Regions from separate parts of the Homo sapiens genome. Here all the other regions are linked to region 1. The links are contacts of gene promoters, found by promoter capture Hi-C in blood cells and fetal thymus (Javierre and others, 2016). All regions are on one chromosome and are shown on one strand. Each heading gives the region's core, a stretch centred on a gene start or on the middle of the fragment in contact. The rest is flanking DNA. Distances are from core to core; before and after follow the strand shown. Region 1 holds the start of SUV39H2 (SUV39H2 histone lysine methyltransferase). Region 2 holds the start of LOC124902380 (a long non-coding RNA gene). Region 3 overlaps FAM107B (family with sequence similarity 107 member B). Region 4 overlaps FAM107B (family with sequence similarity 107 member B). Region 5 overlaps FAM107B (family with sequence similarity 107 member B). Region 6 overlaps FAM107B (family with sequence similarity 107 member B). Region 7 overlaps NMT2 (N-myristoyltransferase 2).

Region 1 (3,093 bases), core at 594-3,093:
CAGTCACATAGGGAGAGGGCGGAAAAGAAATGCAGTCCCAGGACTACAGTCTCTTCTCTGAGGAACCCAGGTTGGACTGAGGAAAAGGAGCCAAAAAGGATTCAAGAGTGGCCAGTGAGTAGCGATGGCCGCTCCTTGGTGGGCTCTGAAAACATACAGGAGAGGTAATGAATACAGGGGCCGGTTAGGACGGGAGGCTGTATCCAAGTCTGAAGGCATAATCCTAGATAGACTAAGCCTTAAAGGGCCTGGATGCTCTTCCAGGTGACAGGGTTGGACAGGGCCTTTTATTCCTTATCTCAAGGTAATGAGATATGGAATACAAAATTTACTAAGGACTCAAATCTTAGAAACATGTCTGAGAAATGCAGTTGCATTGAAACACACACGGACTGCAGAACAGTATTTGTATTATGATGCCGTTTGTAGCTAAATAAAGTCTGGGAGCATGAGTGTGTGTGAGGAAGTGGTGTTTCCCATCGTAGAAAATGATTAAATATTTAAAAACGAGAAGTTAAAAAGAAAATCACTCCGAAAAGGCTATTTCGTTATTTTCCTATACATTTTTTTCTTCCATAGTTAAAACTATATTTCAGGGGGATTTGTTTTGGTTTTGCTGAATACTAAAAGCTTCATGAACACCTTTTTAAGACGGCTAGACAGTATTTCATAATGGAATCAAATAATTAACTATTCCTTTAATGGTCTGCGTTCATTTCCAGTATTTCAAATTTATACATACTGCTTTGAAACGTTTATGTAATTTTTTACATGAATTTTTTAAGGAGATATCAAATGGCCTTCTGCCAGTTTTCGTTATTTGCTCTAAGATTTCTGCTTTAGGTTGTTTAGAACAATCATGGATGCAGCGTCAAGAATGGGTGGGGGAGGGGGGTGGAGACCAGGTGGGAGGCCCCTGGAGTCGTCCTGCAGCTTCCTTACTAACGTGTCCTTCTCCTCCCGGCCCCCACCCGCCACCAGGCCGAGCTCAGGAGCTTGGCAACAACATGGGAGGGGAGCTCGGGTCCCCTTACAGACCTACCCAATCCCAATTTACATTAAAGTTGAGCCCAGGAGGTCTAGTCTGCAGTGAGCCGTAATCGCGCCACTGCACTCCAGCCTGGGTGACAGAGTGAGACCTCATCTCTTAAAAAATTCCAAGTCCAGCTCCCCCACCCCCGACGATTCGTAAGCCCCTTTAAGTGAGAAGCACTGATGTGGACCGGTGGTTTCCGCTGTGCCGCACATTAGGATCAGCTGGGAGCTGGATAGCACAGGCCACACCCCACACCAACCAGTCGGAATCCCGGCGACTGCCCCAAGCCAGCGGAACCTCTCCAGCCATGCCCACGTGCAGCCGCTTCCGAAGCCCGGAGCTCTAGAGGGAGCGGTGTCGGGGGGAGACTAACCATGGCCCACGGGGCTGCGGTAGCTGCGGAACCGTACCCGACAGGCAGCGTCCCCGGCTCCCTAGGTCCCCGCTGCCCGTGTCGGATCTCGCAGTGTGCGAGTGCTGCCGAAGTAAGACGTCTCCAAAGCGCAAAGTCCTGGCCGACGTCTTCCCGAGTGAAGGCGCCAAACGGGCCTGGCGAAGGGAAGGGGGCGCCGGACACTGCCGAGGATCCGGGAGCACGCGCGCTCGCCCCGCCCCGCTCCTCGCGCTTGGGGCCGGGCCTAGCTTTGGGGCGCAGGCGCGCTGGCCGCCGCGGCGGGGGGTCGGCCGCCAGTGACGTCAGGACGCCGTGCGGGTTCCGTCCCCCAACAAGCCCCGGCCCCCAAGTCCCGCGCGGGCCGGCCAGGGGCGGGGCGTCGGGCCAGCTGAGCTATCCCGTCAGACCGCGCCAGTTTGAATGAAAGCTCTACAAGATGGCGGCGGTCGGGGCCGAGGCGCGAGGAGGTGAGGCTGGAGCGCGGCCCCCTCGCCTTCCCTGTTCCCAGGCAAGCTCCCAAGGCCCGGGCGGCGGGGCCGTCCCGCGGGCCAGCCAGATGGCGACGTGGCGGTTCCCCGCCCGCCGCGACCCCAACTCCGGGACGCACGCTGCGGACGCCTATCCTCCCCCAGGCCGCTGACCCGCCTCCCTGCCCGGCCGGCTCCCGCCGCGGAGGTGGGCACTGTCCGAGCCTGGGGCACTTCGGAAGTGGAGCGTGGCCTCTCCGCCCGCTCGGCCCGGCCCCCTCCGCGTCTCCCGTGGCGGCCTCGGGCTTCGAGGCCGCTCCCCGGCAGTCCCCGGTTGGAGGTCCGGGGGGCACGGCTGCGACTGGCTCCTTTGTGGTGGTTCGAGCGCGGCGTGCGGCATGCGCCCGGGCCTTTGAAGTGGGAGGCGGGAAGCGACGCCCGCCGGCGTGAACATGACCTTAATATCAGAGGGGGAGAGTAAATCGGGGCGCCTGTGTGCTAAGAAAGGGGATAAGCGAGGAATCCCCCCCAAGGCGGACACGCTAGGAGGTTGAGTGCCTCGTTGGAGAATCGCCCAGAAAGTGGGTATTTGAGGTTGCAGCCTCTGGCTTACGGTAACTCTTTCACCCACCGGGAGCTTGGTGTTATTTCTGTGGACGCTGGGGAATTGGGCACCGGGGAACTGGGCACCGAGCGCGCGTGGGTGTGGGCGTCGGGGGGTGTTGGTGTCGCGCACGCTTTGAGAGCCTGGAACTTTTCCGTGCGTTCCGGAATGTAAAGGTGTTTTCAAGCTCGTCTCCTCTCCGCTGGGATTATGACCTCATTATCCCTGAATTTTTCTCCTTGGAGAATGTCAGGGGTTACTGTGAACCAGCGGAAGGTGTTTGTGGTGGTCATGAACTATTTAATTTTGTCAGTGAAATCTTTTTCTGCATTACTGGAGACTGTCGAGAGATTGTCTTTCTTTTTTTAACCACGTGTTTGCAGTTTTTCATGTTCACTTTTTTTTTTTTTTTAATTTTCAAAGAGCATTTCCTTTGCGGGTTGTGTTTTGAATCCTCAACTAGATAAAAATGTTTAGGAAAAGCACACAAACACACCTTGAGTAGATAAGAGGAACCTCCTTTATACGTGATTCCCTTAATGAGGTCAGCTTAACACAAAACGTTCTCTAGTTTTTGTAGATGGAAGGGACT
Region 2 (3,093 bases), core at 172-2,671, 390 kb before region 1:
TAGGCACACAAACACCAGCCACCAGTCTGTCCCCAGGCCACACGGTCCTACGGGAAGCCACCTGCAGCCTTCTCCTGCTCCCTCAGCAGACCCAGAACTGCCCTGTCATTCAGTAGGAGAATCTGTCTTTGTCCTGGTAGCTTGAATGGTGCCAACTCCATTTATGTTTTCTATTTGTATTTTCTTCGTGTTTTTCTTTTCCTTTCCTAACATATATGGGGTTCATTACATTTTTCATTGTTCTTTTCCATATTCATTTTGAAGTTCTACATCCTATTTCTATTTTACTAGAATTTTACTACATTTTTAGCTAACTTAATTCAACAAAATATTTTTGCATCATTAATAATTAAATAATACGTATAATCCCCCTTTCAACAAGTCTAACAAGATGAGGTGTTTGCAACCTTTTGTAGCCCCCTCCTTTTGATGGCTCCTTGAATTTAGTTCCAAGATTATAATTATTATTATAGGGCTTCTTTTATTTTGCACCGTATACCCTTTTTATCTTCTAATAGACTTTATGCTTTTTAGCAGTTTTAGGAACACAGTAAACTTGAGCAGAAAGCAGAGAAAGTTCCCATATACCCCCCCATCCCCACATATACACAGCTTTCTTCATCATCAACATCCTGCACCAAAATGGTACATTTGTTATCCTCAATGAACCTACGTTAATACATCATTATCATCCAAAGTCCATAGGTTACATTAGGGATCACTCTTGATGTTGTACATTCTATGACTTTTGACAAATATATCATGACATGTATCCACCCTTATAGCATCTTACAAAACAGTTTCGCTGCCCCCAAATCGTCTATGTTCCACCTATTTATCCTTCTTTTTCCCCAACCCCTGGCAACCGCTGATCTATTTACTATCTTCTATAGTTTTGCCTTTTCCTGAATGTCGTATAGATGGAATCACACAGTATGTATGTAGCCTTTTCAGATTGGCTTTTTCACTTAGTAATATACATTTGAGGTTCCACCATGCCTTTGTTGGCTTGATAGCACCTTTTCTTTTCATCACTGAATAATATCCCATCGTCTGGACATACCACGGTTTATCCATTCATCTATGGAAGAACATCCTGGTTGCTTGCAAATTTTGTCAATTATGAAGAAAGTTGCCAGAAACATCTGTGCATTGGTTTTTGTGTGGACATAAGCTTTCAATTCCTTTGGGTAAATACCAAGGAGCGTGAACGCTGGATCACATAGTAAGAGTATGTTTCATTTTGTAAGAAACTGCCAAACTGTCTTCCTAAGTGGTTGTGCCATTTTTGCATTCCTCCAGAATGAGTGAGAATTGCTGTTGTTCCAAATCTTCGCCAGCATTTGGTGTTAGTGTTTTGGATTCTGACCATTTCAATAGGTGCGTAATAGTATTTCATTTTTTGAATTTACAATTCCCTAATGACATATACTGCTTATTCTTTCAAATATTTTGAAAATGTGTTAAACCTCACAAACTATACTATCAACTACATTTAAATGTGTTAATGGTTTTATTGCTCACTATATAATGTAGCATTTATTTCCCTTTTAAAAGTTTATTCGTTTATTCCACAAACATCGACTGAGTGCCTGGTGCGTGCCCTGCGTGAAAATCTATAGTTACAAACTGACAAAACCTCTGTCTTCATGGAGCTTCCCTCCCCATAAAAGCTTTAAATTATTTTGTATTTGGCTAAAGTATACCCTTACATAATTTGTTTGTGGAATTTCTTTGTTTGGTTGGTTGTTGCTGTTGTTTTTCCCGAAATATTCTATTCTAGAAGGAAACATAGCTCATTCCCTGGACCCCTCTAGGTCTTCGCTCAAACATCACCTTCTCAGTGAGCACTACCACGGCCACATCACTTAAAATTGCATCCTCCTCCCCACAGTGCTCCCCGTTTCACCTCCTCCATAATATTTCTAACACACAACACATCATATTTCATGTAAGACATGAATGTTGACGCACACTATTACGTTTTATGTCAACAAAAGAGAAGGGCGGCTAACTGAGTCATGGCCTTGACATTAGGTCACACTGATGCGGGGCAGCTGAGCCCCATCATGGAGCTTAGCCCACAAGGCTTCTTGGCTTTGCCCAGGAAAGAATTCAAGGGCAAGCCAAAAGTAAAAGAAAACAGTCTTAGCGTTACAACTCTGTGACTGCCCCCGCAGAGCAGGGCTACCCAGTAGGCAGAGAGTAGCAGCTCAGGGCAGGGCAATTTTGCAGCCATATTTATACACACGTTTAGCTGCATGCAGATTAAGGAGTGGTTTATGCACGGGAGGGGTAGTAACTTTTGGATGGTTGGGTGCCGTGGAAAGAGGCAGTACCTCCCGAGTGTTGCCATGGCAACAGTAAATTGACCTGGTACACTGGTGGGTGGGTCTGATTGAATGCTGCTTTCATCCTGGCCCTGTTTCAGCTAGTCCTCAATCTGATCTGGTGTCCGAGCTCCACCTCTGGAGGTGAGTCCTGCCTCTTACCTCAACACCTCACCAATTTTTTTTTTTTTTACTAATTTGGAGATTTTAAGAGACTTCTCATGCCTTGAAAACCTTTGCATGTGATAGGCAGTCCTTTTGCAAACATAGCTCAGTAGTAAGACATGACAAAGCTTCACCCTCTTGCGGGTATCTTCTTTTCTTACAGTGTCAAAACATGACTGGTTGTTTATAAGGAAACACGGAATTGTGGTCACTCTCCCAAAGATGAATACTTGCTTTTGGGTTTCCATGCCTCTCCATGTACACAATAACCTTTTGTTTCAATTTCAGATCATCGTGGAATCTTTTTGAAGACATTTGAATGGCAAAATAAATCCTTTACGCATAGTACTGGCAAAGAGCCCAGCTGAGCTGAAGCAGGAACACTATGAGCAGCTTTTCTCAGGTTTGCAACTTCGGGGGAAATGGCAATTCCTTAAAGGCAGCTGCCCGGCCAGCAGCAATGATAAGATGCCAGCGATTATAGAATGCACCCCAGTTTCAAAGTTGCTAATGTGAAACATCATGCTTCTAAGAATCAACAAAATATAGTAATGTACTCACTTTGTCTATTATCTAGCTGCCTCTACTAGTTAGCAAG
Region 3 (3,093 bases), core at 409-2,908, 350 kb before region 1:
CTTATTGTCTTCCTTAGTCACTTATCTTAGCCAGTCTCTGCCAACTCATAAGTAATCTCAACTTGATGTTAAAATTTACCAGGACAATTTAAAATAAAAATAGGACAAACCACCGAACAGGAAAAGCGCTTTCAATTTCAGGCAGCACAGGGTGTAGGTAACAGCGCACACACACTCATGCTACGCACGCAGGCATGTGGTGGAACAGTAATTCAGGCTTTTCTGAACTGCAGGCAACAAGCACTGCTGACTCTGTCCCGGACTCCAGGATGGGCCTGAGCACCTCCCACACACCTCCTGGTCCGGCTGCTGATGACTGCTAATCTGTAGACAAGGGACAGGGTTGTTCTCTAAACGACTCCTATCAACTACCGTGACTAACCAACTAGGAGTCATCTGAGCAACTGTTAAATAACAATTTCCAATATATGTGCTCCGGCCAGAGAAATTCAACAGCACACTCACCTTGATCCCTTTAAAGTCCACACAATCACATCTGTAAACCAATCCTCAATTGCATACTTCCTCATTCATCTAGAATTTCTAAAAATTCTGGCATCTCTCCTATCTAGATGTTTTTAAAAATCACAAAAACTTAATTCAAAGTTGTTGTTTAGAGTAAAAATCGGTATATTCCATCTTTTTTTTTTTTTTTTTCTGAGACAGGCTCTCTCTGTTGCCCGGGCTGGAGTGCAGCGGCATGATCTCAGCTCACTGAAACCTCTGCCTCCTGGGCCCCAGCGATCCTCCCACCTCAGCCTCCTGAGTAGCTGGGACCACAGGCACATGCCACCACGCCCAGCTCTATTTTTTTTTTTTTTTTTCGTTTTTGAGATACAGTTTTCCTCTTGTTGCCCAGGATGGAGTGCAATGGCACAATCTCGGCTCACTGCAACTTCCTCCTCCCAGGTTCAAGCGATTCTCCTCCCTCAGCCTCCCGAGGAGCTGGGATTACAGGTGCCCGCAACCACGACCGGATAATTTTTTGTATTTTTAGTAGAGACGGGGTTTCACCATGTTGGCCAGGCTGGTCTCGAACTCCTGAGCTCAAGCCGTCTACCTGCCTTGGCCTCCCAAAGTGGTGGGATTATAGGCATCAGCAACCACACCCAGCTAGTATAGTCCATCTTTAATGACAGAGGACACACAGTCAAAATAATATATGTCTCCAATTTCCCAATTTTCATTAGCAGAACTTTCCGTTAAAAAAAATTTGGCCAAATTTCCAGGGAAACAAAAGAGGCAGGTGACTTTTGTGATTTAATTATGGTTTATTTCACAGTTATCAAAACTAAATAAACAACAGGATAAAAAATATGCACAGATTAAATCTTTAATCAGCACAATATAAGTTGCTTAAGAGTACTCTGTTCAAAATAAAGGTGTTATTAACCACAGGAAAAGCTGTTTTTAAGTAATCTGAATAAAGTTTTACTCAGTTTCATGACTATCAAAAAGTCTTGATATAACACTACAGACAGAATTAAGGGGTTTAAATTTTAGGATTAAGAATTTAGCTATCTGAATAATTTAAATTTCAAACATTTTTCTTTCCCTACATTTCACTGGCAAAATTAACTTCAACTATTATTCAATTCTCCTGGATTATGCAAAAGCTGCTGAAGATTTGATGTATGACACATTTGGCTGACACTCTATTGCAACCTATGAATGGGTTTAACTATTACACAGTATTCATTTTCCTTTCAAAGATTTTACACAATAGTGACAGTAAGATAAAATATGTAGTAACAAAAAATTCAGGAAAATGGTGCTTATATGATAAATATTCTCTACTTACAGCAGTCAAGAAGTCATATAAATTTAGTTAATATTTTACCACAGTGGATTACTTAACTTTCTGTGCTGAATGCAAAAAGTCAAGCATTGCCCATGTAAGTCTCTAAGTCTAAATGGAACAGAGATAGTGTCGACAGACAGAAATTAGTTTCTCCAAATGTCATAATTAACTACAATACCATCCCTTGCACAAGAATAGTTGGTTCTCTTTAATCAATTCTGACATATACAGCTAACAAGTACTTTCAACCCCTTTATGACAGTATCACCCACGAGTAACAGTAATTCCCAAGTCGGCTTCTCGGTCAGGTAGCTACCTGTGACTACTGAAGCGGGCAAAGCCAATTTAAAAAACTATAAAATTAATAAGTGCTCTTTGCAGAAAAAGAAAAGTAATATACCCATGTGTTAAATAAAAAGCAAAAGCACATCCAAACCCTCTCCATTAAACGAATCGAGGAGCACCACTCCATCGCAAATGTTCTATGTGAACAGTGGCCCCAAAATTATGCAAAGTAGAGACCCTGTACCCATCAACCCCTACCTATTCCTGCATCCAGAGATAACTCTTACCAACAGTTGGGTCTATGTTCCTCCATACTTTCTATACCCATATAAACATGCCACAATTCTGCCACATCCCTACTGACAGACATCTATTTGGTTTCCAACTGTTCACTATTAAAAACAATGAGGCTCTGAGCCTCTGTGGACATTTATAGCTGCACACTTCTACAAGTATTTCTGTTGGCTAGATTCATAGAAGCGGAGTTGCTGGCTAAGCATCTGCACATCGCATATTTTGATGAGTACTGCCAAAGTGCCCTACAAAAAGGCTGCAATGATTTATATTCCCACCCCCAGAGTATGAAACATACAGACAACTTTGAAAGGTACATTTCACATAAACCACTAAATACATTCAAGGGCAGACGGGGCGAGTCCCCATTCATTCCACATCTACCTGAACTCTGTGTACCTATATATTAATAAGTGAAGTCATTTCATTACCTGGGACAGCATTCATCCAGAGGAAAGGTCTGGGGCTCAGACCGTCACAGAACAATGCCTACTCACTTAGTCAAACATCTCCCGGCCTAATTATTTTTCTTAGGGTACAGGGAAAATTTGATTTGAATTTAGCCCTTGTTCTTTTTTTCCGGGGGGACAGAGTCTCGCTCTATTGCCCATGCTGGAGTGCAGTGGCATGACCTCGGCTCACTGCAACCTCCGCTTCCTGGGTTCAAGCTATTCTCCTGCCTCAGCCTCCCAAGTAGCTGGGACTACAGGCGC
Region 4 (3,093 bases), core at 440-2,939, 330 kb before region 1:
CAGCAAAGCACGTTCTGTGGTCTAACAGTGTCACCCAGTGGTAAAAGGCACAGTTTGGTGTTCAGGGGAGCTGTTGCTTTTTAAAAGAAATAACCCGTCATACGTGTTTCTTTACTAAAAGGAAAAGAAAAAAAACACTTTTTTGAATTGCAAGAAGAAAACTAGTACGTAAATTCTAAAAAACATGACTGGCACAGAAGTGAGCAGCTCTTCATCCAAGGCCACTCTGAAGCCTTTGGAGACCACTCAGGAAGGAGCATGCAGTCCTGAGCTCGGCCTCCTGAGCTCGGGAGAGAGGCACGGTGGTGTAGGACCCGTGACTCAGGAGCAGTGCAGGAGGAGTTGAAATCAGCCCGTTCTCCAGGCCAAACGAGAGACCACAGGCCACCCTCGCTCTCAGCTGCACTGTGTCCTTCCTGTTTTGCCTGTCTACCATGCAGCCACAATTCTCTAAAGTTCAGCACTTCCAGAAAAAAGAAACAAAAAGCAGCCAATTCTGTTCCAAGGTTCACTATCTGATCCTAAAAACTTTAAAAAAAAAAAAAAAAAACCAAAAACTCTCATATGGTGAAGCTTAACTGAAATAATAAATTATTTAGCTTCCTTATCTGCAAAAAGAGAAGGCTGTGCCAGATGACCCTTGAGATCCCTTATTAGTGAAATGTTCTGATAATAAAGAAGAGTTTGGCTCACCTGCTGGTCTCCACCACACAGGTTTATAACCAAGAGCCCTACAGCTCTTGTCCCACCCTGAGGGCCTGACTGACCTGTGGAGGGCCCCACCTTTCGCCTCCATTCACTCACCCCTGTTCCCAAGAACCACTGACTTCTTTACATGAAGCCTACATTGAGTAAGTTTTTAGGTACAGATGCTGAATTACCCAAGCTGTATCCACCCTCACTCCAGGCACCCCGAGGAGAGACTCAACTGCTTGGCCCAGGGTTAGAGAGGCCCACACGGGAAGGCAGAGTGGAGCAGATGTTATTTAACCAAAAGTCTGTATCCTGGGGCTCCCAGCTACCACAGTCAAGAAACACATTTTTAAAAAATCAAGACCCTTGAACTAGCAGCAGTAGTCACCCATACCGTATACGATAAATAAAAGTAAGCCAATGTTTATTCTTCTTTGCATAAAATCACCTATACCAACACTTATACATTACAGCATCATTCAGTTAATTCAAGTCTGAATCCCAGAAACTCTCCTGAAATCAAGCCACAGTTCAGCCCTATTCTTCCTAGTTTTTCCTGACATACTTTTGCTTACTCTATAAATCCACGGATATTCTTCTTGCCTACTCCCACCAAAGCCCAAATACACGTGAAAAAAGTTAATCATGAAGTTTTTCTTATTCCCTTACATTTAGAAAATCAGCATCTACTCTCATAGACTACTTGTAAGAAGACAAATTTCTGCTACTCTCTGAAGAATTTGTTGGCAATGTGTAGCAAAAGGCCTTACCGTGAAACACCCTTGAACGCAGTAATTCCACTTTTAGGAATTTACCCTAAAGACATCAACAGAGATGTAGACAAGTGTACACAGAATGATATTTATTCCGGCATGGTCTATGATAGCGGAAAAAATGGAAGCCATTTAAATATCTAATAATGGAATACAGTGCAGCTTAAAATCATCCATTATTAGAATAAATAATGAAAGGGAAAATATTCACAAGGCACTAAATAGGAGAAAAACATTAGGCTCCAAACAGTATGCCCTTTACTTTGGAAAACAAATGCCTACGTGTGTGTCTGTGTGTACAAATGCACAGCATGGTGATCCTCAAAGTGTCATCCCAGGGTCCGAGGCATCGGCACCATCATGGAATTAGTTAAATGCAAATATCGGAGATGCAGTGAGTCAGTCTCTGGGGGGTGGGCCCGGCAACCTGTGTTTTATCATGTTTGCTAAGTGTCACATAACCTTTGCAGTAGACATTAAATTTATTCCATCATACAGATAGGGAAATTAAGGCCCAGCGAGACTAGGTGACTTGCCTAAATCTACAAGGCTAATTAAATGGCAGCTAGCAGCATCATGCAGCTAGCTCCAGAGTCCATGCTCTGAGCCACTTTGCTACAGCACCTCTCTATTTTAACTCTCCTATTTGGACGTGTGCTCTTTCTGCTAAATTAATGGCAGGATGCATCCCCCTGTTGTCTGATCACCTTCATAGTGGTTTAGCGCTTCTGTTACAAAGCTATTGATCTGGGGGCTGGGGGTGTCCTGGGCTCTATCACTAACATCCCCATTAATATATCTCTTGATGAATACCTGGTTGACATCTTTGAAGGCTAAAAAAAGATATTTAGATCTAAGTGAACATTAAATACCAGCACACATAAGCAAAAACTTGAATGCCATCAGCAATGACATGCAGCAGATACTGACTAAACACACAAGGCACCTGTTGCCTGCTAGAGGGGAGAGGCCATGTGGCAATCCCATGCACAGCTTCCAAACCACCTGGCCACCATCTTTGAAATTATACAAGTTTTGATTGACTTCTTTTCCTTTTTTGGTTTTTGCATGATTTCAAAATTTGCATGTAACAGAATCCTTATTTATATTATGTTATAGTCACAAAATTAAAATTGGTAAAATAAAGTTATCACACTTAATTCCTAAATTGCAAGTTCCTGAATAAAGAGACCTCCCTTGGAATTTTTCTCCTATGTTATTTTCTGAGGAGAAAACACCTCGGTCATTCATCTCAGGAAACTACAAAGAGGATGGACTGAGAAGATGGTTGATTTCGGCCTAATCATTCCTGAGAGGAAGGAAAATACACAGACCACGAAAAGCTTCCTGCTGGGCTAGCTTTCAAAGCCCTCAAACATTCCTGTCTTCAAGAGCTGACTAATAATTCCGTAATATTTATGACCTGGCCCAACTGGCCAAACAAACTAATACTTTCAAAAGAAGAGACTATCTTCAAACAGACTTAATGACAGAAACTTTAGAAGGAACACAGAGACCAGGTGTTCAACTTCCTCATTATGACAGATGAGGAAACTGAGGCCCAGAGAGATGAAATGACTAAGTTAAGAGAGTGGCAAAGACATTCTGGACCACACAGTGGCAAAGC
Region 5 (3,093 bases), core at 396-2,895, 280 kb before region 1:
TTCAGTACAAATATTCCCCTTAAAACTACAATTTTCAGCCAGGCACGGTGGCTCACACCCGTACTTTGGGAGGCCAACGCAAAAGGATTGCTTGAGGCCAGGAGTTCAAGACCAACCGGGCAACAGAACAAGACTTCATCTCTACAAAATATAAAATTTAAAAATTAGAGTGGTGAAGCGCTCTGCAGTCCTAGCTACTCAGGAAGCTGAGGTGGGAAGATCCCTTGAGCCCAGGAGTTCAAGGCTGCAGTGAGCTATGGTGGCACTGCTGCACTCCAGCCTCCATGACAGAGCAAGACCCTGCCAAAAAAAAAAAAAAAACAAAAAAAAACAAAACTGGCAAATGCATTCTCCAACTGGAATCCCAATCTCTTTGTGAGGCTACGAAGACACAAGCCTCAAACACATGGTGAAGGGCGTGTGAAGAAGCAGTAAAGACACAGCTCCATGAGAAGAAGGCCCAAGTCTGATCCCAGCTCTTAAAACCCCGAGCAAGCTTTTAACCTCCCTTGTTGAAAAACACTGATCATGGCACCTCTCATGGAACTGCATTGGTTGGTGCCTCTACAACTGATTTCTAGAAATCACAGAAAATAATGGCCATAACTGTGCCTGGCATATAACAAATGCTCGGGAAATGCTGGCCACTGTTATTTTTATTCTCATCTTAAGGCACATCTCAGTGGACCTTTTTCTCATCAGCACAGGGTATCTCTTATGATAGATGACAAACTCTAAGAAGGTTCCTTAAAAGCAGATGTCTTAGGCAACAATGGATGGACTTCAGAAACACTATGCTACATGAACAAAACCAGACCCAAGAGAGAGGCCACACTGTGATTCTACCTGTACAAAGGCAAAACGCTACAGACAAGAGAAAAGATCACTGATTAACTAAGACTGGGGGTGGGAGGGGGAACTGACTGCAAAGTCTAAAAACTGGACTGGGGGGAGGCTGCCCACCCTTATAAAGTTACTAAAAATTACACAACTGTGTACATATAATGGGTGAATTGTATGGAATATAAATTATACCGCAATAAAGCTATGCTAACAACAAAACAGATACATCTCCCAAGCATTTCTGCAGGTACTTTCGTATCAATCTCGCAATGAGAGTAAATGCAGATATGTACAGAGTCCAGCAAAAATGATTGAAAACGCAAGACTTGGGCATAGATCAGACTTGGATCCTAATTCTGGCTCAGCTTCTTCCTAGGGCAACCTTTTTTTTTTTTTTTTTTTTTGAGAGGGAGTCTTGCTCTGTCACCCAGGCTGGAGTACAGTGGTTCGAGCTCAGCTCACTGCAACCTCCGCCTCCTGAGTTCGAGCGATTCTCCTGCATCAGCCTCCCAAGTAGCTGGGACCACAGGCGTGCACCACCACGCCTGGCTAATTTTTATAATTTTAGTAGAGACAGGTTTCACCTTGTTGGCCAGGTCCTAGGGCAAACTTTTTACTTCTCTCCCCCTTGGTCTCCACATCTGTAAAATGGGAATAAAACAACACTAAGTCCAGAGGCTGATGTGAACATCATAAAGCTCATCCTCCACCAGTCTCCCCATATCAATCAATGGCACCATCTTTCACCCAAAGGCTGAGGCCAAAAGAGCAGGTGTCACCCACAATGCCTTTCTCTCTTGTATCAACTCCAATCCATCTCACCAGCGGCACCCCGGCTGGTCTCCCTGCTTCTATTCCTGGCCCTCTGCAGTCCCCGTGGCCCTCCACAACCACAGGGACACACTGACAAAATACAAGGTCCATCTCCTGCACGCCCTGCTCAGAACTCTCCTGTGGCTTCCTCATGAGCCACGTCCTCACCGTGGCCTGCCAGACCTCCTTGGACCCCACTGCACAGCTCTCTTCCTGCCCTGGCCGCTGGCTCCTCCCACACAGGCCCTCTGGCCATTCCTTCCATAGCAAGCTCCTGCCAGCCACTGGGCTGATATTTGCACTTGTTTCTGCGAGGCTCATCCCCTTGCCTCACTCAGATCTCAAATTCTCCTCCTCGGAGGAGCCTCATCCTAATAAAAACACAACCTGCTCTCCCACCAGACTCCAGCCCCCTGAACTGACTTAGTTGTCTTTACAGCACTGACCATGGGAATCACCTCATCCATGTATCTGTTTACCTTCTGTCATGCACTAGCATATAAACTCCATGCAGGCAGGGAGTCTGTCTGTCCCAGCCACCATGCTAGCCCGTGATCCCACTGATCCCCAGAGCCTGGAACGATGACTGGCATATGGCAGCATTCATTAAATAGTTGCTGAATGAATGAAGAAATGTCATAAAGAACTTGACACCATGCCTGGTCACATATAAGATGATTAAAAACTGTTCATTGATGATAATAATAATATTACCAGTATTATTACTGCATTTCACAGGTAAGAATATGCAAACCCCAAGAGGGCAACTGACTCACTCAGGTCAAACTCTACGTCTGATGTCTATGACTTCTATGACACCTCCCATTCCATGGGCACAGAATAACAGAATTCACCCACCGCAGCAGGAACCTGAAAGATGATGTAGCTGATTCTCTTGCACACCCGACGCCCTGCCTCCTCTCACCTTCTAAGAGTCACCTATCCTAAGGGGTGGCCCACATGCTGTTCCAATTCCAGAGCATTCCCTAGAAGGACAAGCAGGCATAAAGAATGCAGGCTTCTATCTCACCCTAAGACAACTCTAAGAAGTAGGTGAGTGTGACTATTTCCATTTTATAGAAGACGACGCTGGGAAACAGAAATAATGACATGCTCAAAAGTCATATACTCATTCATGGCAAGCTTAGGCTTAAAAGTCTGAAAATCTTTCAAGTCTAGGCCTCTCTCTTTCCGATACACTACTTTACCCTGCACATCCACTAAAAAAAGAAAAAATGAAAAAGAACCCTGACCAGTTTTATGTGTTTCAAATAGAATCAAGTTACAAGGGAAAGAATATTATGAAGCCCCCTCTACATACGCATATGCACAAATGGCATTCTCAACTTCCTCCAGGACATGGGAATTTTGATACATCTACATTAAACACTCACAAACCACCTGTGATTATTTATACTGCAAGATTTCATAAGACTG
Region 6 (3,093 bases), core at 346-2,845, 260 kb before region 1:
ATTTGAGACAGAGTCTCACTCTGTCGCTCAGGCTAGAGTGCAGCGGCGCAATCTCAGCTCAGTGCAACCTCCACCTCCCAGGTTCAAGCAATTCTCCTGCCTCAGCCCCGCGAGCAGCTAGGATGACAAGCGTGCACCGCCATGGCCGGTTAATTTTTGTGTTTTTAGGAGAGACAAGGTTTCACCACGTTGGCCAGGCTGGTCTCGAACTCCTGACCTCAAGTGATCTGCCTGCCTTGGCCTCCCAAAGTGCTAGGATTACAGGTGTGAGCCACCTCACCGAGCCCATAAACTTTCAATGAATTGAATTGGCAATTGAAATGTTATCATAGAACAATAGAAACCTAGTGGTACGGAAATTGATTTTAAGAATGATTTGCTCATGACCATTCTTAGCTTGATTTGGAGAGATTCATAATCTTTTAAAAGACAGTTTATCCATGTGACTAATGAAAAGCAGAACTTCTCTTCTTACTCAGAACTTCCTTACTTACCCCATGCCTCCTTACTAACCTGACAGTTTTTTCACTGCACAAACTTCAAGATAATCTTAATTTCCTCACTTACGCCCTACATCTACTTTGGCGACAAAACCAAGACATTGCTTTCTCTGTCATTTCTCTCAAATCTACATTTTTCTCTCCATCTCTATCAAATTCTGCCTGGCCCACAGACACACAATCCTCAGAGTGCATATCCACTAATACTGCTTTCCTTCCGTCTGCCCCACACAAGCATACACTATGACTCAAGTCATCTCACAAACAGGCCACATCAGCTAGGCTAATCTAGTAAAACAAATTATACAACGCTTTTCCCTCAAAGCTGGACGACTGGCTTTTCTTTTATTAAAATTCAAAGTCAGCTGGGGGCAGTGGCTCACACCTGTAATCCAAGCACTTTGGGAGGCCGAGGAGGGCAGATCACTTGAGGTCAGCAGTTCGAGACCAGCCTGGGCAACATGGTGAAACCCTATCTCTACTAAAAATACAAAAATTAGTCAGGAGTGTTGGCGGGCGCCTGTAGTCCCAGCTACTCGGGAGGCTGATACAGAAGAATCGCTTGAACGTGGGAGGCAGAGGTTGCAGTGAGCCAAGATCGCGCCACTGCATTCCAGCCTGGGCGTCAGAGTGAGACTCCATCTCAATAAATAAATAAATACAATTTGAACTTGCTTCTTTCTTTCCCCCTAAACAGTCGTTGTCCTGGGAGGTTCACAGATCACATGAGGTCCTGTGGGCTCTTAGAGGCTCTGAGCACGATCAGAAGCCATCAGTGTGTGTGTGATACTGAAAGCCAGGAGCCTGCATTCACCACCAAGGGAGAAACTGAGGCCTGTGCCCAGGGCGCTCTGGCATTTAGTGGTCGGGGAGCTGCTGGGAACTGGCAAAAGAGACAGAGAAGGAGTCAGGTGCAGTGTCTCACGCCTGTAATCCCAGCACTTTGGGAGGCTGAGGGAGGTGGATCACCTGAGGTTAGGGGTTCAAGATCAGCCTGACCAACATGGTGAAACCCAGTCTCTACTAAAAATACAAAAATTAGCCAGGCATGGTGGCGCATGCCTGTAATCCCAGCTACTCGGGAGACTGAGACAGGAGAATTGCTTGAACCCAGGAGGCAGAGGTTGCAGTGAACCAAGATCGTGCCATTGCACTCCAGCCTGGGTGACACAGCAAGCGAGACTCTGTCTCAAAAAAAAAAAAAAAAAAAGAGACTTAGAGAAGGAATGGCCAGTGAAAGTGAATGGGACCCAAGGGAGCTATGAATGAAACCTGGAAACCAAGTGAGACCAGGGTTTCAAGCAGGAGAGGATGTGATGGGCACCTTTGTGAAACGCTGCTACCAGGTTACACGAGACAGGGACTGTTTACCAACCCAAGAATCACTCGGGGAGCAGCAGGGGTGAAGACCTGGCTGGAGTGGCTTCAAGACATAATGGGAAAAGAGGAATTGGAGGCAGCTAGTATAGGCAGCTTTGTCAAGGGTAGTAGACGGAGGGGAATCCAGGGCCAAGAAAGGTTTTGTTTCACTGTTTTGCTTGTTTTTAAAAATGGCAGAAACTGCTGGGTGTGGTGGTTCACATCTGTAATCCTAGCACTTTGGGAGGCCGAGGTGGGTGGATCACTTGAGGTCAGGAGTTCGAGACCAGCCTGTCCAATATAGTGAAAACTCATCTCTACTAAAAATACAAAAATTAGCTGGGCATGGTGGCATGTGCCTGTAGTCCCAGCTACTTGGGAGGCTGAGGCAGGAGGACCACTTGAACCTGGGAGGTGAAGGTTGCAGTGAGCTGAGATCATGCCACTGCACTCCAGCCTGGGTGACAAAGTGAGACACCATCTCAAAAAAACAAAAAAAAAGGCAGAAACAAATAATTTTCTATAAGCTGATAGGAACGATCTTGTAGGGAGAGAATTAATGGATATCTTTTGGTCTTCTGGACATTAAGCCTAGGCCTTGCTGAAGTGAACTCTACTCTAGCCAAGTTTCCTGTGAGGCATAAATACACCCACTTCCACCTCCCAATCTTCATTCATGATGTTCCCTCTGGCAGAAATGCTCTTCCTCCCCTCTGTTAGCAGATCCAAGTTTTGCCCATGCATTAAGTTTCTGTTCAAATCTTAGGTCTGCCACAAGGCCTTCCTTAACTTTTATAACCTAGACCAAGTGCTTATTTAATTTTTTAATAGCACTGAGCATTTATAAATTACTTATTAAGTATCTCTGTGTGGAAAGGAGTGAGCTAGATTTGGGAACAGAGTAAGTTAAATAAAAAGCACCATTCCATACTCGAGAAGCTAACAAACTTCTTATTTGTCCTAAGCAATAATTTTTTGTATGTGTTCCCTAATTACCTTGTCAACTTTGAAGGCAGGCAGGAATCAATGTTTTAATCTTTTTTAGTGCCTAGCACAATAAGTACTTCATAATCAGAGCTAGATAGATATTTATCAAATTAAATTAAAAATAAATATGACGGAATTACTTAGGCATACTTCCCAATTGTATAAAAGAATCACAAAAACTTCCCTTAATAGTTTATTCCTTCAAACATTTTGTAACAATTATTTTAAAACTTTCTAAAAGAGGTTG
Region 7 (3,093 bases), core at 283-2,782, 260 kb after region 1:
GGGACAGGGGGAGGAGGGAGGGAGAGAGGGAGGAAAGGAGGAAGGAAGGACAGATGGAAGGAAGGAAGGAAGGAAGGGAAATCTGAACTCAGTGCTGAACTGGGATGAAAATGATCAAGAAAAGAAATCTCTAACCATGCCCCTTCCTCCCGGCCACACCCTGCCCTTCTCCTGACCCTCCTGATCCTCCTGATCCTCTAGAGACAAACTCTCCCACCAGAAGGACAAGCAATTTCCTCTGTACTTCAGATCCTGGGCAACCATAGCCTGTCGTTCCCAGCCCAAGTGTTGGAAACTGGACTCCTTTTTAGGTAAAACATTACGTTTGAATTCTAAGGTTCCTTTCTCAAAGCCAATATTCCCGCCAGCTCTTGGAGATTCCCCAGTTCTTTTTTTTTTTTTTTTAATTCCTCAAATAACGTAATAATACATGGAACATGAGACTACTTGAAATGAGAAGACAGCGCAGAGGACTGAATATGGAAATCAATGACTTTTTTCAATATGTAAAATTACTGAGACATTGTAGAACTTTGATACCATGCAAAGAATATTCTTCGCTGTAATTCAGAAAGTGGTTAGAAGTTTCAAGAGCCCTTCGGTTTTGCTGTATGTCAACACAGGGTGGACACCATTGAAAGGTACAATCGACCCTTAGAAGTTTATAAACAGCAACTTTGGACTTCTGTTCCACTTGGAATCTGAAATCTGTGGTGTGGAGCAATAATTTTAACTTGGGAAGCTTACTCATCGTACACAGCACAGAACAGGGTTTGTTTCATACAAACACTGTCAAGAACCCTAAGGAAACGAAGTTCTGAAGTCCAGCTGGAGGCAGGTGAAAGTCTTTTTGTCTCTGCTTGGAAGTCTCACAGCACAATCCAAGATGGCCACAGTTTTTGTAAGCTGTTTATCTTACATTTGTTTAACATCAAAATCATAAAGGTCCTATCTTAATGACACATACAAATTTAACAAAATACTTTTCCGGTTCTCATTATTATATCTTTGGATGACTTCTTTTCCTTGGGTGTCTTTTAAGTCCCCAACATTAAAAGGAGCAAATTTCTAGCAAAATGAAATTCATGTGTATCTGAACTCCAACAACACCATCTATTAGAAGACCTTACAATTTAAATAGGAATTGAGATCACAGCATATTTCAACTAATAATGCTTAACTGTGCATCAGTTTAGCTTAAAATGGCAAAGTAGAGCCCAGTCTTATAAAAATAGAACTACAATGACTATAATGAATTTGTCATGGTACTTTTTCTTTCTTGATTTAATTTTTTGTTCCTTGATTTCTTTCCTGGTTTCTGAGTTAAATCTTCTAACAGTAATATATCAAACTCAAACTATTTTGCAACAGACATGAATCAGCATCTTTGTTCCACATGACCCAATGACCAAAATGACCAACTCCATGAAGAAGACTTCAGAGTGATTTATTCCCTACCTAATTAGCTCATGGGTTGACCAGCACACCTCTACATGAAATGTCCCTTTGCGAAACATTGATATCCCAATGTTCACTATTTAAATGCTTTCTTTCTTCTTCTTCTTCTTTTTTTTTTTTTTTTTTCATTTTGAGGCAGAGTCTCACTCTGTCGCCCAGGCTGGAATGCAATGGCATGATCATGGCTCACTGTGACCTCCGCCTCCTGGGTTCAAGTGATTCTCCTGCCTCAGTTTCCTGAGTAGCTGGGATTACAGGCTTGTGCCACCACGCCTGGCTAATTTTTGTATTTTTAGTAGAGACAGGGTTTCACCATGTCGGCCAGCCTGGTCTTGAACTCCTGACATCAAGTGATCTGCCCGCCTTGGCCTCCCAAAATGTGGTGATTACAGGCATGAACAACCACATACGGCTCTATTTAAATGCTTTCTGAAAGTAGATTCAAATAAACACAATTTCCAAATCCACAGGGACAAAGCAGTAAGGGAAACTCAGCTATGATCATTTCTCATGCCTGTCCATTCACCTTCCATAGTAGCACTACCTGGGAAGAATGAGTGTGCATCAGGCAAGGTGAGATGAATATCTACCCGACATTAACTTCCCACGATTCCACTCCTATATAAGAGGCAGGTATATTCTCTTTTTCTTCCACACATGCTTTCTGTGGCATACTAACCAGCAACTATACTCTTTACCCATTGTTTTCCAAATTTAATAGTACCTTGGAAAAAATGTCCAAGTTTTATAACACTAAGAAGTTTATAAGAATCCAAATATCATTTTTATTTTGGTTCTTGTATGTAGACCAGAATATTCTGCAATGCAGTCCACTGTAATTTACAGTGCTATCTAGAGTTGGCATAAGCTTAAAGGGAAAGAGCCCCAGATTTTAAAAATGCAGCAGAAAAAAGCCCATCTTAAGACAATACTGACTTCCTCCAAATTAAGAAAAGAAATTCCCTACTGTGATGGTTACTACTGAGTGTCAACTTGATTGGATTGAAGGATACAAAGTATTGGTCCTGGGTGTGTCTGTGAGGGTGTTGCCAAAGGAGATTAACGTTTGAGTCAGTGGGCTGGGAAATGCAGACCCACCCTTAATCTGGGTGGGCACAATCTAATCAGCTGCCAGTGCAGCTAGGATACAAGCAGGCAGAAAAATGTGAAAAGAGAGACTGGCCTAGCCTCCCAGCCTCCATCTTTCTCCCATACTGGATGCTTCCTGCCCTCGAACATCAGGCTCCAAGTTCTTCAGTTTTGGAACTCAGACTGGCTCTCCTTGCTCCTCAGACTGCAGATGGCCTATTGTGGGACCTTATGATCATGTGAATTAATACTTAATAAACTCCCCTCTATCTATCTATCTATCTATCTATCTATCTATCTATCTATCTATCCATCCATCCATCCCATTAGTTCTGTCCCTCTAGAGAACCCTGACCAATACACCTACCATATAATGCCAAGAGTTCGCCACTGCCTGGCTTGGCTCTAGTTTCTCATAAGTGACCAGAGAGAGGGGAAAGGCTCACAGTCACTAGAGGTGGAAGGGATGGGCAGAGACCAATGGTGATGCTGAAAGCAACAGGAGATGTCCACGCTGCAGGTCAGGGATGCCACGTTTATCTGATG

What was found. The method cuts DNA at HindIII sites, captures the fragments that hold promoters and counts their contacts. A CHiCAGO score of 5 or more calls a contact.
Region 2: a fragment that was not itself captured here is called in contact with the fragment with the promoter of SUV39H2 in region 1 in 11 of 17 cell types (naive B cells, M2 macrophages, monocytes and 8 more); the score reaches 9.3 in naive B cells.
Region 3: a fragment that was not itself captured here is called in contact with the fragment with the promoter of SUV39H2 in region 1 in 16 of 17 cell types (neutrophils, monocytes, M2 macrophages and 13 more); the score reaches 27.9 in neutrophils.
Region 4: a contact is called between a fragment that was not itself captured here and the fragment with the promoter of SUV39H2 in region 1, in 17 of 17 cell types (megakaryocytes, monocytes, naive B cells and 14 more). The highest score is 22.9, in megakaryocytes.
Region 5: a contact is called between a fragment that was not itself captured here and the fragment with the promoter of SUV39H2 in region 1, in 11 of 17 cell types (neutrophils, naive B cells, monocytes and 8 more). The highest score is 12.2, in neutrophils.
Region 6: a contact is called between a fragment that was not itself captured here and the fragment with the promoter of SUV39H2 in region 1, in 7 of 17 cell types (monocytes, neutrophils, megakaryocytes and 4 more). The highest score is 12.6, in monocytes.
Region 7: a contact is called between a fragment that was not itself captured here and the fragment with the promoter of SUV39H2 in region 1, in 1 of 17 cell types (fetal thymus). The highest score is 6.0, in fetal thymus.

Annotation. Positions count from the first base shown.
Region 1 is chr10:14,877,023-14,880,115 of GRCh38, forward strand. SUV39H2 (SUV39H2 histone lysine methyltransferase) reads left to right here and starts at 1,844. Exons shown (of 6, transcript NM_001193424.2): 1 at 1,844-1,897. The coding sequence starts at 1,867. It overlaps SUV39H2-DT (SUV39H2 divergent transcript), which reads right to left and starts at 1,637. Exons shown (of 1, transcript NR_186426.1): 1 at 1-1,637. RefSeq lists a silencer at 1,578-2,317. The HindIII fragment of the contact is 2,774 bases long and covers 629-3,093 here.
Region 2 is chr10:14,484,923-14,488,015 of GRCh38, forward strand. It overlaps LOC124902380 (a long non-coding RNA gene), which reads left to right and starts at 2,348. Exons shown (of 2, transcript XR_007062062.1): 1 at 2,348-2,474; 2 at 2,784-3,093. The HindIII fragment of the contact is 499 bases long and covers 1,173-1,671 here.
Region 3 is chr10:14,523,228-14,526,320 of GRCh38, forward strand. All of the region lies in intron 3 of FAM107B (family with sequence similarity 107 member B), which reads right to left. Among named protein-coding and RNA genes, the nearest start is that of MIR1265, 88 kb to the left of the region's middle. The HindIII fragment of the contact is 9,482 bases long and covers 1-3,093 here.
Region 4 is chr10:14,543,160-14,546,252 of GRCh38, forward strand. All of the region lies in intron 2 of FAM107B (family with sequence similarity 107 member B), which reads right to left. Among named protein-coding and RNA genes, the nearest start is that of MIR1265, 110 kb to the left of the region's middle. The HindIII fragment of the contact is 2,236 bases long and covers 572-2,807 here.
Region 5 is chr10:14,594,197-14,597,289 of GRCh38, forward strand. The region is part of intron 2 of FAM107B (family with sequence similarity 107 member B); the gene reads right to left. Among named protein-coding and RNA genes, the nearest start is that of MIR1265, 160 kb to the left of the region's middle. RefSeq lists enhancers at 1,333-1,833, 1,834-2,334. The HindIII fragment of the contact is 2,303 bases long and covers 495-2,797 here.
Region 6 is chr10:14,612,986-14,616,078 of GRCh38, forward strand. All of the region lies in intron 2 of FAM107B (family with sequence similarity 107 member B), which reads right to left. Among named protein-coding and RNA genes, the nearest start is that of FAM107B, 160 kb to the right of the region's middle. The HindIII fragment of the contact is 5,880 bases long and covers 1-3,093 here.
Region 7 is chr10:15,136,439-15,139,531 of GRCh38, forward strand. The region is part of intron 2 of NMT2 (N-myristoyltransferase 2); the gene reads right to left. LOC107984210 (a long non-coding RNA gene) reads left to right here. Exons shown (of 2, transcript XR_007062067.1): 1 at 1-3,093. Among named protein-coding and RNA genes, the nearest start is that of NMT2, 31 kb to the right of the region's middle. The HindIII fragment of the contact is 1,584 bases long and covers 741-2,324 here.